Regions from separate parts of the Homo sapiens genome. Here region 2 is linked to region 1. The links are contacts of gene promoters, found by promoter capture Hi-C in human tissues and cell types (Jung and others, 2019). All regions are on one chromosome and are shown on one strand. The core of a region is centred on a gene start or on the middle of the fragment in contact, and the rest is flanking DNA. Distances in the headings are between cores, read along the strand shown.

Region 1 (5,385 bases), core at 2,877-5,376:
AAGGAAATAAAGGACATTCAACTAGGAAAAGAGGAAGTCAAATTGTCCCTGTTTGCAGATGACATGATTGTATATCTAGAAAACCCCATCGTCTCAGCCCAAAATCTCCTTAAGCTGATAGGCAACTTCAGCAAAGTCTCAGGATACAAAATCAATGTGCAAAAATCACAAACATTCTTATACACCAATAACAGACAAACAGAGAGCCAAATCATGAGTGAAGTCCCATTCACAATTGCTTCAAAGAGAATAAAATACCCAGAAATCCAACTTACATGGGATATGAAGGACGTCTTCAAGGAGAACTACAAACCACTGCTCAATGAAATAAAAGAGGATACAAACAAATGGAAGAACATTCCATGCTCATGGGTAGGAAGAATCAATATCGTGAAAATGGCCATCCTCCCAAAGTAATTTATAGATTCAATGCCATCCCCATCAAGCTACCAATGACTTTCTTCACAGAATTGGAAAAAACTACTTGAAAGTTCATATGGAACCAAAAAAGCCCACATTGCCAAGTCAATCCTAAGCCAAAAGAACAAAGCTGGAGGCATCACGCTACCTGACTTCAAACTATACTACAAGGCTACAGTAACCAAAACAGCATAGTACTGGTACCAAAATAGAGATATAGACCAATGGAACAGAACAGAGCCCTCAGAAATAATGCTGCTTATCTACAACGATCTGATCTTTGACAAACCTGACAAAAACAAGAAATGGAGAAAGGATTCCCTGTTTAATAAATGGTGCTGGGAAAACTGGCTAGCCATATGTAGAAAGCTGAAACTGGATCCCTTCCTTACACCTTATACAAAAATTAATTCAAGATAGATTAAAGACTTAAATGTTAGACCTAAAACCACAAAAACCCTAGAAGAAAACCTAGGCAATACCATTCAGGACATAGGCATGGGCAAGTACTTCATGACTAAAAACACCAAAAGCAATGGCAACAAAAGCCAAAATTGACAAATGAGATCTAATTAAACTAAAGAGCTTCTGCACAGCAAAAGAAACTACCATCAGGGTGAACAGGCAACCTACAGAATGGGCGAAAATTTTTGCAATCTACTCATCTGACAAAGGGCTAATATCCAGAATCTACAATGAACTCAAACAAATTTACAGGAAAAAAATAAACAACCACATCAACAAGTGGGCGAAGGATATGAACAGACACTTCTCAAAAGAAGACATTTATGCAGCCAAAAGACACATGAAAAAATGCTCATCATCACTGGCCATCAGAGAAATGCAAATCAAAACCACAATGAGATACCATCTCACACCAGTTAGAATGGCAATCATTAAAAAGTCAGGAAACAACAGGTGCTGGAGAGGATGTGGAGAAATAGGAACACTTTTACACTGTTGAGGGGACTGTAAACTAGTTCAACCCTTGTGGAAGTCAGTGTGGCGATTCCTCAGGGATCTAGAACTAGAAATACCATTTGACCCAGCCATCCCATTACTGGGTATATAACCAAAGGATTATAAAACATGCTGCTATAAAGACACATGCACACATATGTTTATAGGGGCACTATTCACAATAGCAAAGACTTGGAACCAACCCAAATGTCCAACAATGATAGACTGGATTAAGAAAATGTGGCACATATACACCATGGAATACTATGCAGCCATAAAAAATGATGAGTCCATGTCCTTTGTAGGGACATGGATGAAGCTGGAAGCCATCATTCTCAGCAAACTATCGCAAGGACAAAAAACCAAAGACCGCATGTTCTCACTTATAGGTGGGAATTGAACAATGAGAACACTTAGACACAGGAAGGGGAACATCACACACCGGGGCCTGTTATGGGGTGGGGGGAGGGGGTAGGGATAGCATTAGGAGGTATACCTAATGTTAAATGACGAGTTAATGGGTGCAGCACACCAACATGGCACATGTGTACATATGTAACAAACCTGCACGTTGTGCACATGTGCCCTAAAACTTAAAGTGTAATAAAAAAAGAAAGAAAGTGTATTAGGTTGATAGCTCCCAAGTGATACAGTTTTAATTCTTTGAAAAAAGATTAAAAAATCACAATGTACCTAATTTTGAAAGTAAAGCTAAATTATGAATGTAAAGGACTTCCCATTATGACCTTTGTCCCCAACTCATGAGTGTGTATATGTGTTTTCTTTCCTTTTTTGACATTTAAAAAATTATTTATTTTTTAGAGATGGGATCTCTCTGTTGCCCAGGCTGGAGTGTACTGGCATGATCACAACTCATTGCAATCTCCAACTCCTGGGATCAAGAGATCTTCCCGCCTTAGCCTCCCAAGTAGCTGGGACTACAGGCATGTGCCATTACACCTGGCTAATTTATTTTATTATAATTGTTACAGCCAGGCTCTCCCTATGTTGCTTAGGCTGGCCTCAAACTGCTGGTTTCGAACTCCTGGCCTGAAGTGATTCTCCTGCCTCAGCCTCTCTAATAGCTGGGATTACAGGCAAGAACCACTGCACCAGGCAACTCTTTTTCTTTTTTGTTTTTTTTTGTTTTTTGTTTTTTTGTTTTTTTGTTTTTTTGTTTTTTGAGACGGAGTCTCGCTCTGTCGCCCAGGCTGGAGTGCAGTGGCACGATCTCGGCTCACTGCAAGCTCCGCCTCCCGGGTTCACGCCATTCTCCTGCCTCAGCCTCCCGAGCAGCTGGGACTACAGGCGCCCACCACCACGCCCGGCTAATTTTTTTTGCATTTTTAGTAGAGACGGGGTTTCACCGTGTTAGCCAGGATGGTCTCGATCTCCTGACCTCGTGATCCGCCCGCCTCGGCCTCCCAAAGTGCTGGGATTACAGGCGCGAGCCACCGCGCCCGGCCTCTTTTTCTTTTTTAATGAAATAATAGAGCTAGTAGAAAATAGTTTGCTTTTTAAAGTGCTTACTTAATAAAATAAAAAGTGGGCAACTCGAAATAAAAAATCAAACAATATCTAACATGTTTAAAAGATTTTTAAAAATCAAAATATAAAATAATATCAAAATTTAAAAACTGGGATTCTGTTCCCCAAAGTTCTGTTCAAATCTGTTAGATTTATCTTCCCTTGACCCTAAGTAATATCTTGGGCAAGCCCTAGAGCTTCTTTCCTGACCCTTAGTTAATAAGATGTTATCTGGTCACATTCAGTCACAATAATAGACTCATTTTAGTAATAAACATCTTAAGACTAGTAATTAAAACTCTTTACTTCACACCAAGTTTCCTCCCCAAGCTTGGCCTGTTCCTGGCTGGCAGCCTGAAGTAGGGAAAGGAGAGATATGGTGACCTTTTCTTTGTACCTTTCTAGCTACCCTCTATACCCTGACCCTACATACATAATTGAGCTGTGGCTTCTGACTCTACTGGGTTTGGGGATGAGAGGCATTGAGAGTAAAATGAAGGAGTGGTTTTAATTAATGGCACAGCTAAAACTGGATTTTGTTCTCTCTGCACATGGCAGATGTTTAAAGCTCATTCTTTCTTTTATGCAAGTTTTTACACCATCCAGCCTCATTTGTACCTCTTGAATTTTTGCTCAGTGGCCTATCACCATTCAGGATCAAGACAAAAATCAATGAGCACTTATTGTGTGTCATGCACCCTACAAAGTGCCAGGATATTTATCCAAACTCCTGGCAATGCTAAACACAATGCAAAAAGACATATTAGAAAACGAATCTTATTAACTTTAACTTTTCAACTGTATTTCATCATAAAGTCTTACTTTACAAGATAATTGCTGTTGTGAAAAAGGGAAAGGTCATGGTCTCATTTCCCAGATGTTATTTGATATATGCTATAAATTATATTACCTCCAACATAGTCTGCACTTTGAACTTAGAAAAACAATCTTCAGACGGCATGCATTCTAATTCTTGAAATAAGTATGCCCACAAACTGTAATTTAAGACAGAATAGGTATGCTTCTCATGTTTTAATTCAGTTGAATTTCAGAAGATCTCAGGAATGTACAGAACGAGAATTAAGAATTAATTAATAAGAATTAATTAATTGCTTGACATAGTTAGGTGATTTCCTGAACTTTAAGCTTCCACATCACAGTATGAAGTTGGTTCTAAGATAAGAAATATAATAAATTCTCGCCCAAGGACAGACCTGAATCTCTAGCTGCCTAGAGGCTGACTCAACTGAAATCATGGCGTTTGACAGCACTTGGAAGGTAGACCGGAGTGAAAACTATGACAAGTTCATGGAAAAAATGGGTAAAGACTTTATTTCTTTGTGGCTCATTCTTTGCTTTCTTACAAACATTTTTCTTTCTAACTCCTAAATCTCTAGGAGATTACAGATAGCTTACAGATAGCTCCTGATGTGGTAGAGAGGATCCAGAAGATGTTCAGAGGAGGGAAACCATATTCTCCCTTCTTACATTAGGAAGAATCCACTATCTCACTAATGGAAGAAAAGATTCTTTGAGTGCTGTTCTCTGAAACACACCAAAAAGATCCAGAAATGTTTCCTTCCCTCTTTAACTGAAAAATGACTTTTTTTGTTGTTTACAGTAAGAAAATGGCAGCGTGTAATGATAACTTCCAGATCTGAAAATGTTAAATTCTAGGAGATGGAAAAACAAAGACCATATAAGAAAGTAATGGAAAAGGTTCTCTTAAAATTTATAGCGCTGAATAAGTTAGATTTAATTCTGATTTCTTCTAACTTAAAAAAGTTTTGGAATAATCTTGAGAAGCTGTGTAGTTTTCTCCAGGGCGTTTAATTTAACTGATTTATAATTTGATACCAATACTCTGGCAGCCCATATACTATACAAGATAGGCAAACAAATTTGTGTCATTCCCCTAAAAGAAAAATCTGCATCAATTATAGCTTACAGTTTAGGAACTCTAAGTTTAAATTTATAAAAGTTGTAGATTCTTATAGTGATTTTGGCTTAATATTTGCTAATTTTCTCATTTTTGTGTCAGAAAGAAATGCCACAAGAAGCAAATAGAACTATAAAGTTCAAAATGTTAAAGCCACTAAGAAAAACAAAGGGGCATTTAAGAAAAAAGAATACTGTATATGTGGAATTAAAGATGTGCTTCCTTATAAATATATGAATATACATTTTAATCCTTCATTTGATATTTCTAGAATTTGATTTACTTAACACTGAAATGAACAGTTTGTTAATCTTATTAAGGTTGCTCAGCTCTAAGATTCTATAATTCTGTACTCTACTTAATTTTTCTCAAGTTATGGAAAAACAACTTTAATCAGTTCTCTTGATCTGATTGAACCTGAACTTCTGTAGAAGCAATCTGAATGTTCTTGTGCAAAGGCAATGCTACCGAGTTTTCTTCCCACCCTCAAAATAAACAAACAAAACATAACTTGGAAAAATAAACACTTCCTATGGGAT
Region 2 (5,243 bases), core at 742-3,241, 83 kb before region 1:
CCTAGTGTTTGCTGCTTTGCATCCTCTCCAGGCCCTGGACTTCCTCCAGTCGGCCTCTCCAGGCCCAGCTCTTCCTCTCGGCGGCCTCTGCAGGCCCAGACTGTCGTCAAGTCAGTCTGTCCAGGGCCAGCTCCTGCCTCCCGGTGGCCTCTGCAGGCCCAAGTCGTTCTCAAGTCGGCTTCCCCAGGCCCAGCTCCGGCCTCTCGGCGGCCTCTCCGGGTGCAAAAGTTCCTCGAGTCAGCCTCTCCAGGCCCAGCTCCTCCTGCCTCCCAGTGGCCTCTTTCGGCCCAGCCCAGCTCATGCCTCCCAGCGGCCTTCCCAGGCCCCGCTTTTGACTTTCGGTGGCCTCTGCAGGCCTCGACAAGGCCTGGCCTCCTGCCTCCCGAAGGCCTGCACAGGCCCAGCCTCTGCCTCACAGCAGACTCTCCACGCCCAGCTAGCTCTCGCCTCACTGCAGCCTCCCAAGTCCAAAGCTCCTGCCTCTCGGCCGCTTCGGCAGGCCCAGCTCCCGCCTGCCAGTGGCCTCTTCAGGCCCATGGGGCTCATTCCTCACAACGGCCTTTCCAGGCCCAGTTTTTCCCTTCCGGCGGCCTCTCCGGGCCCAGAACCTCCTCAAGTCGGCCTCTCCAGACCCACTTGCACCCTCCGGGTGTCCTCTCTGGGCCCAGCTCTTCTTCCTGGTTGCGTCTCCAGGCCCGACTCCTGCCTCTCAACAACCTCTTTGGACTCAGTGCCTACCCATCTCCTGGCGGCCTTGGTCGGCCCACAGCTTCCTGAAGCCAAGCTCCCCAGGCCCAGGTCAGGCCTCACGGTGGCCTCTCCAGGCTCAGCTCCTGCCCTCCGATGGCATCTGCAGGCCCCAAACGGCCTCCGGTCGGTGGGCTCCTCTAGGCCCAGCTTGGGCCTCCCGGCGGCCTCTGCAGGCCCAAGTCGTCCTCAAGTCGGCCTGGAATTGGGCCTGGAAGAGCAGCAAGTCGGCCTCCCCGGGCCCAGCTCCGTCCTCTCGGCGGCCTCTCCAGGTGCAAAACTTCCTCGAGTCAGCCTCTCCAGGCCCAGCTCCTCCTGCCTCCCAGTGGCCTCTTTCAGCCCAGCCCAGCTCATGGCTCTCAGCGGCCTTCCCAGGTCCCGCTTTTGACTTTTGGCAGCCTCTTCAGGCCCAGAACTTGACCTCCAGTCGGCCTTTGCAGTCCCGGCCTCCTGCCTCCCGAAGGCCTGCACGGGCCCGGCCTCGGCCTCGGCCTCACAGCGGACTCTCCACGCCCAGCTAGCTCTCGCCTCACTGCGGCCTCCCCAGTCCAAAGCTCCTGCCTTTCGGCCGCTTCTGCAGGCCCAGCTCCCGCCTGCCAGTGGCCTCTTTAGGCCCAGCTTATTCCTCACAACGGCCTTTCCAGGCCCCGTTTTTCACTTCTGGCAGCCTCTTGGACTCTAATTTTTTTATCTTTTGTGTATAAATCCCAAAATATGGAATTTTGGAATATTTCCATCATTATATAAATATTTTGGTAGGTAATTTATTTGGAGTGAGTTTCTGCACCAAGCCCGAATTTTTTATTTTATTTTCCTTATTATTTGGTGTTAAACAGGTTTAATGACGGTCATGGCAACTTTCTGGCACAATAAAAAATATCCCCGTGATCAACGTGTTCTGTTCTGGGGAAGGGGGCAAAGGCAGGGTGAATCACTTTCTTAAAAAGTACAACTCAAGTTGGGATAGCAGAGGGAATGGGGAGAAAACCCTCCCGCTGCCTGTGTCGAAGTGCAGGAGCTTCCACCCCCATACTCACCTGAGTCCAGCCCCTCTGGGGAAAGAAGGGGTGCATGAACTCCCCATAGTCGACAGGCACCTCCCTGTGGCCCAAGGCCCTCTTCACACTCCATCCTGTAGCCCCAGCAGGAGCTATTTTCCGAAAAGTGAAAAGCTCTGAAGGTCCCACACTTCATGATATGTACAGGGGCTCGGAGGAGGGAAACTGCCAAGCTTTCCCCCGGTACAGCTGCAGGGATAGTGGGTATATATAAGAGGAGCAGGCCTTGGCCAGGCCTGGTGGCTCACACCTGTAATCCCAGCACTTTGGGAGGTGGAGGCAGGCGGATCACGATGTCAGGAGATCGAAATCAGCCTGGCCAAGATGGTGAAGCCCCGTCTGTACTAAAAATACAAAAATTAGCCGGACGTGGTAGCGTGTACCTGTAATCTCAGCTACCCGGAAGGCTGAGGCAGGAGAATTGCGTGAACCAGGCAGGAAAAGGTTGCAGTGAGCCAAGATCGCACCACTGCACTCCAGCCTGGGCGACAGAGCAAGACTCCGTCTCAAAAAAAAATTAAAAAAAGCAGGCCTTATTCCATCCCAAACTGAAAGGATTAAATGGCTTTACCCGGGAGAAGATAACCATCCTGACCTCCATGGCTACCCCCACATACTGTCCATGTTCTCAGGGGGTACTGTGAGTCCTGGGATCTTCTTTGGGGTCGCCCATCTGCCTGTGGTAGTTATGGAGGGACCCAGGTGTTGAGGCAGGGCTGGGGTGTCCCCTTCCAGCCAGGCTGTCGAGGCCCCAACTCTGGGGCAGAGGCAGGGGCAAGGCACCCAGAGTTGCACCAGAGCCTGAGCAGGGTGAGGTGGGGTCAGGCAGGGCTGGGAGTCAGGGCAGGGGCAGCAGCAGTGGACCCGCTATGCACACATTTTCTTCTCCAAGGTTTGTGTGCAGAACATCCTGCCCATGCTGCCCCAGCAGCTTCAGTTGGCACCTGCCCCAGTCCAGCCTCTGGGACCATGCAGCGGCTCCCAGTGGCCCTGCACCCACCACCAGCATCCGTTTCACCTGCAGTTGAAGATCCGTGAGGTGCCCAGAAGATCATGCAGTCATCAGTCCCACGGAACAGCCCACGAGGCTGAGGCTCCTCCCACTGGACCGCCCCCCAACTGGCACCACTGCTGCCCCTGCCCCTACTCTCAGCCTCACGTGACTCTCGGGCAGAGGCAGTGGTGGGGCAGCCAGGGCAGCATCAGAGTCTGAGCCAGGTGAGGTGGGGTCAGGACCCCCGCAGGGCTGGGAGTCAGGGCAGGGGCAGAACAAACCTTGGAGGGGAAGATGTGTGCATAGTGGGCCTGGAGGGCAGCTGTGGCCTAGTGGACAGGAAGAAGCAGTGGGCCTGGAAGAGCTGCATGATCAAGGCCAGCACTGGTCCAGGGCGCGTGCAGTGAAGAGGACAGCGCCTTCTCCGTCTCCGGTTCCCTGAGCCCGTCCTCGGCTTCTCCACCTGTACAGGCAAAGGGGAAGCTGTCCCCATCACACATGGCACACTTGGGGGTGTTGGGCTTTGGGCTGCAGCTGGAGCATCTTCTCATCTTGCATTTGGGTGTGGTGGGGTCCGCCAGTGCGGGATCCATGTCCGTGGGGTTCCCTCTGCCCCAACCCCCAAAGCCCAGTTTCTCCTCTTCAGGCTCTGCCCCCTGGGTGGCTCAGCCCAGCTCCTGCCTAGGAAAGCCTTAGTGTTGGGAGGGACCACAATGACTGAGGGGCCTGGTAGCTCCAGGTCGCCCACACTTTCAGGTCTCTTGCACCAGAAGGTGGCAGGATCCATTGGGAGGAAACAGGTCACCTTGGAAGGCGTCCCTGGGCCCCCATCCCCAGGGGTAGGGGCCGTAGGGGGCCCGCTCTGCTGCCCTGACCAGACTCCTGGGCTTTGAAGGCTCCTGGGCCCAGTAAGAAGGAGGTGGGTGCCAAGGTTGAGGAGGAAGCATCCGAGAATGTGTAGGAGAAGGACGGGGTGGGACCATAGACTTTGCCAAAAACTGCAGGTGGATCGGGGGACCCTGGGGGCTCAGGATTCAGCAAGGGGCGGCAGGAGTAAAGGAGGAAGGAATGACAGGTGCAAATACCTTCCCATGAAAGCCCTTGTTGCGCTCTGGCTCCTCCCCAGAGCTGTCCCCACTCTCAGTCGGTCACCCACTCCTTGAACTTGAGATCAGTGTCAGTGGTGCTAAAGCCGTCATCAGCAATGACATCATCACCCCCTCCTCCTCATGGATGACCATGTGCTCCTCGTCATTCGCTATGTCCTCACTGGCCATGTGCTGGATTAATGAATGGATAAATGAAATTGGTATATACATACACTATATATACATACAATTCCTTAAAAAGGAAGGAAATCCTGTCACAATGCAACATGGTTGAAGCTTGAGAACATTATGCTAAGTGTAGTGAGCCAGTCACAAAAATAAAAAAATACTGTATGATTCCACTAATATGAGGTATCTAAAGGAGTCAAATTTATAGAAACAGGAAGTATAATAATACTTGCCAGGGACAGTGGAAAGTGGAAAAGACAAGTTGTTTAAAAGGTACAGAGTTTCAGTTTTGCAAAATGAAGACGTTCTAGAGATCTGTTTCACAATAAAGCAAGTACTTACACATGACACTACTGAGTGGAACACTTAAAATGGCTAAGGTGGTAAATTTCATGTTATATGTTCTTTACCACAAATATTTTTAAAAGTTTATAACCATTTGAAAACACTGGTGATGAAAATTAAAAAACAAAAATAAAAACAAAACAAGCAACTAGATTCAACTACTTTCCTTCCCCAGTGAGAAAGGAAGTGTTGCTATAGACAGTCAATGCATGTCACTGTCTTGACTTCAGTGGACAAATACCTGCTCTGCTAAAAAAAGAAAGATCACTGGGTTAACATCCCTACGTTTGGCCGCTCTCTTACCTTGTCAGCCTCCACACCAGACTTCTCAAGAGCAGATCTCAATTCTGAAGCCTCTGCGTGCTGATGCACACTCACATATTTATGTTATGGCATAGCCTCTGGCTCAATTTTACCTTGAAATAGTTCTTTGGAAGTCTTTTTCTTGGCATTAGTCCTTCTCAACCTCTCTGCTGATTTTAAGCTTAATGGCCTTCTCTACTGGTTAGGATTCTATATATTTTTCTACCTTTCTGACCACTGAATCTGCCTCCTTTACCTCCCTAAAACTAGGTATTACTATGGTCCTGCCTGCCTTCAGCCTCCTTTTGATTCTCCACTTGTTCTGTCTTAACTATCTAATGTATATTACTGTCCACAGTTATCTTTATTACCCTAATATTGTTGCTTCCAGATCCAACCTCTCCCCCAAACCCCAATGTTTGAATTTCTAGCTGTCTGTTAGTCTCCATATGAATATGATCTAATCATCATGGCTCTTTTAAACAAGACAGAGCCACCCAAACACCATGAAACCAGTAA

The links. Contacts are between HindIII fragments. The study calls those that stand out against the background at their distance.
Region 2: a fragment that was not itself captured here is called in contact with the fragment with the promoter of FABP2 in region 1 in 2 of the 25 tissues and cell types used here (H1 embryonic stem cells and dorsolateral prefrontal cortex).

Annotation. Positions count from the first base shown.
Region 1 is chr4:119,320,879-119,326,263 of GRCh38, reverse strand. It overlaps FABP2 (fatty acid binding protein 2), which reads left to right and starts at 4,126. Exons shown (of 4, transcript NM_000134.4): 1 at 4,126-4,228. The coding sequence starts at 4,162. The HindIII fragment of the contact is 4,027 bases long and covers 723-4,749 here.
Region 2 is chr4:119,401,912-119,407,154 of GRCh38, reverse strand. It overlaps LINC01061 (long intergenic non-protein coding RNA 1061), which reads left to right. Exons shown (of 3, transcript NR_037596.1): 3 at 1-1,632. It also overlaps the pseudogene LOC100131884. Among named protein-coding and RNA genes, the nearest start is that of LINC01061, 6.1 kb to the left of the region's middle. The HindIII fragment of the contact is 5,109 bases long and covers 1-4,545 here.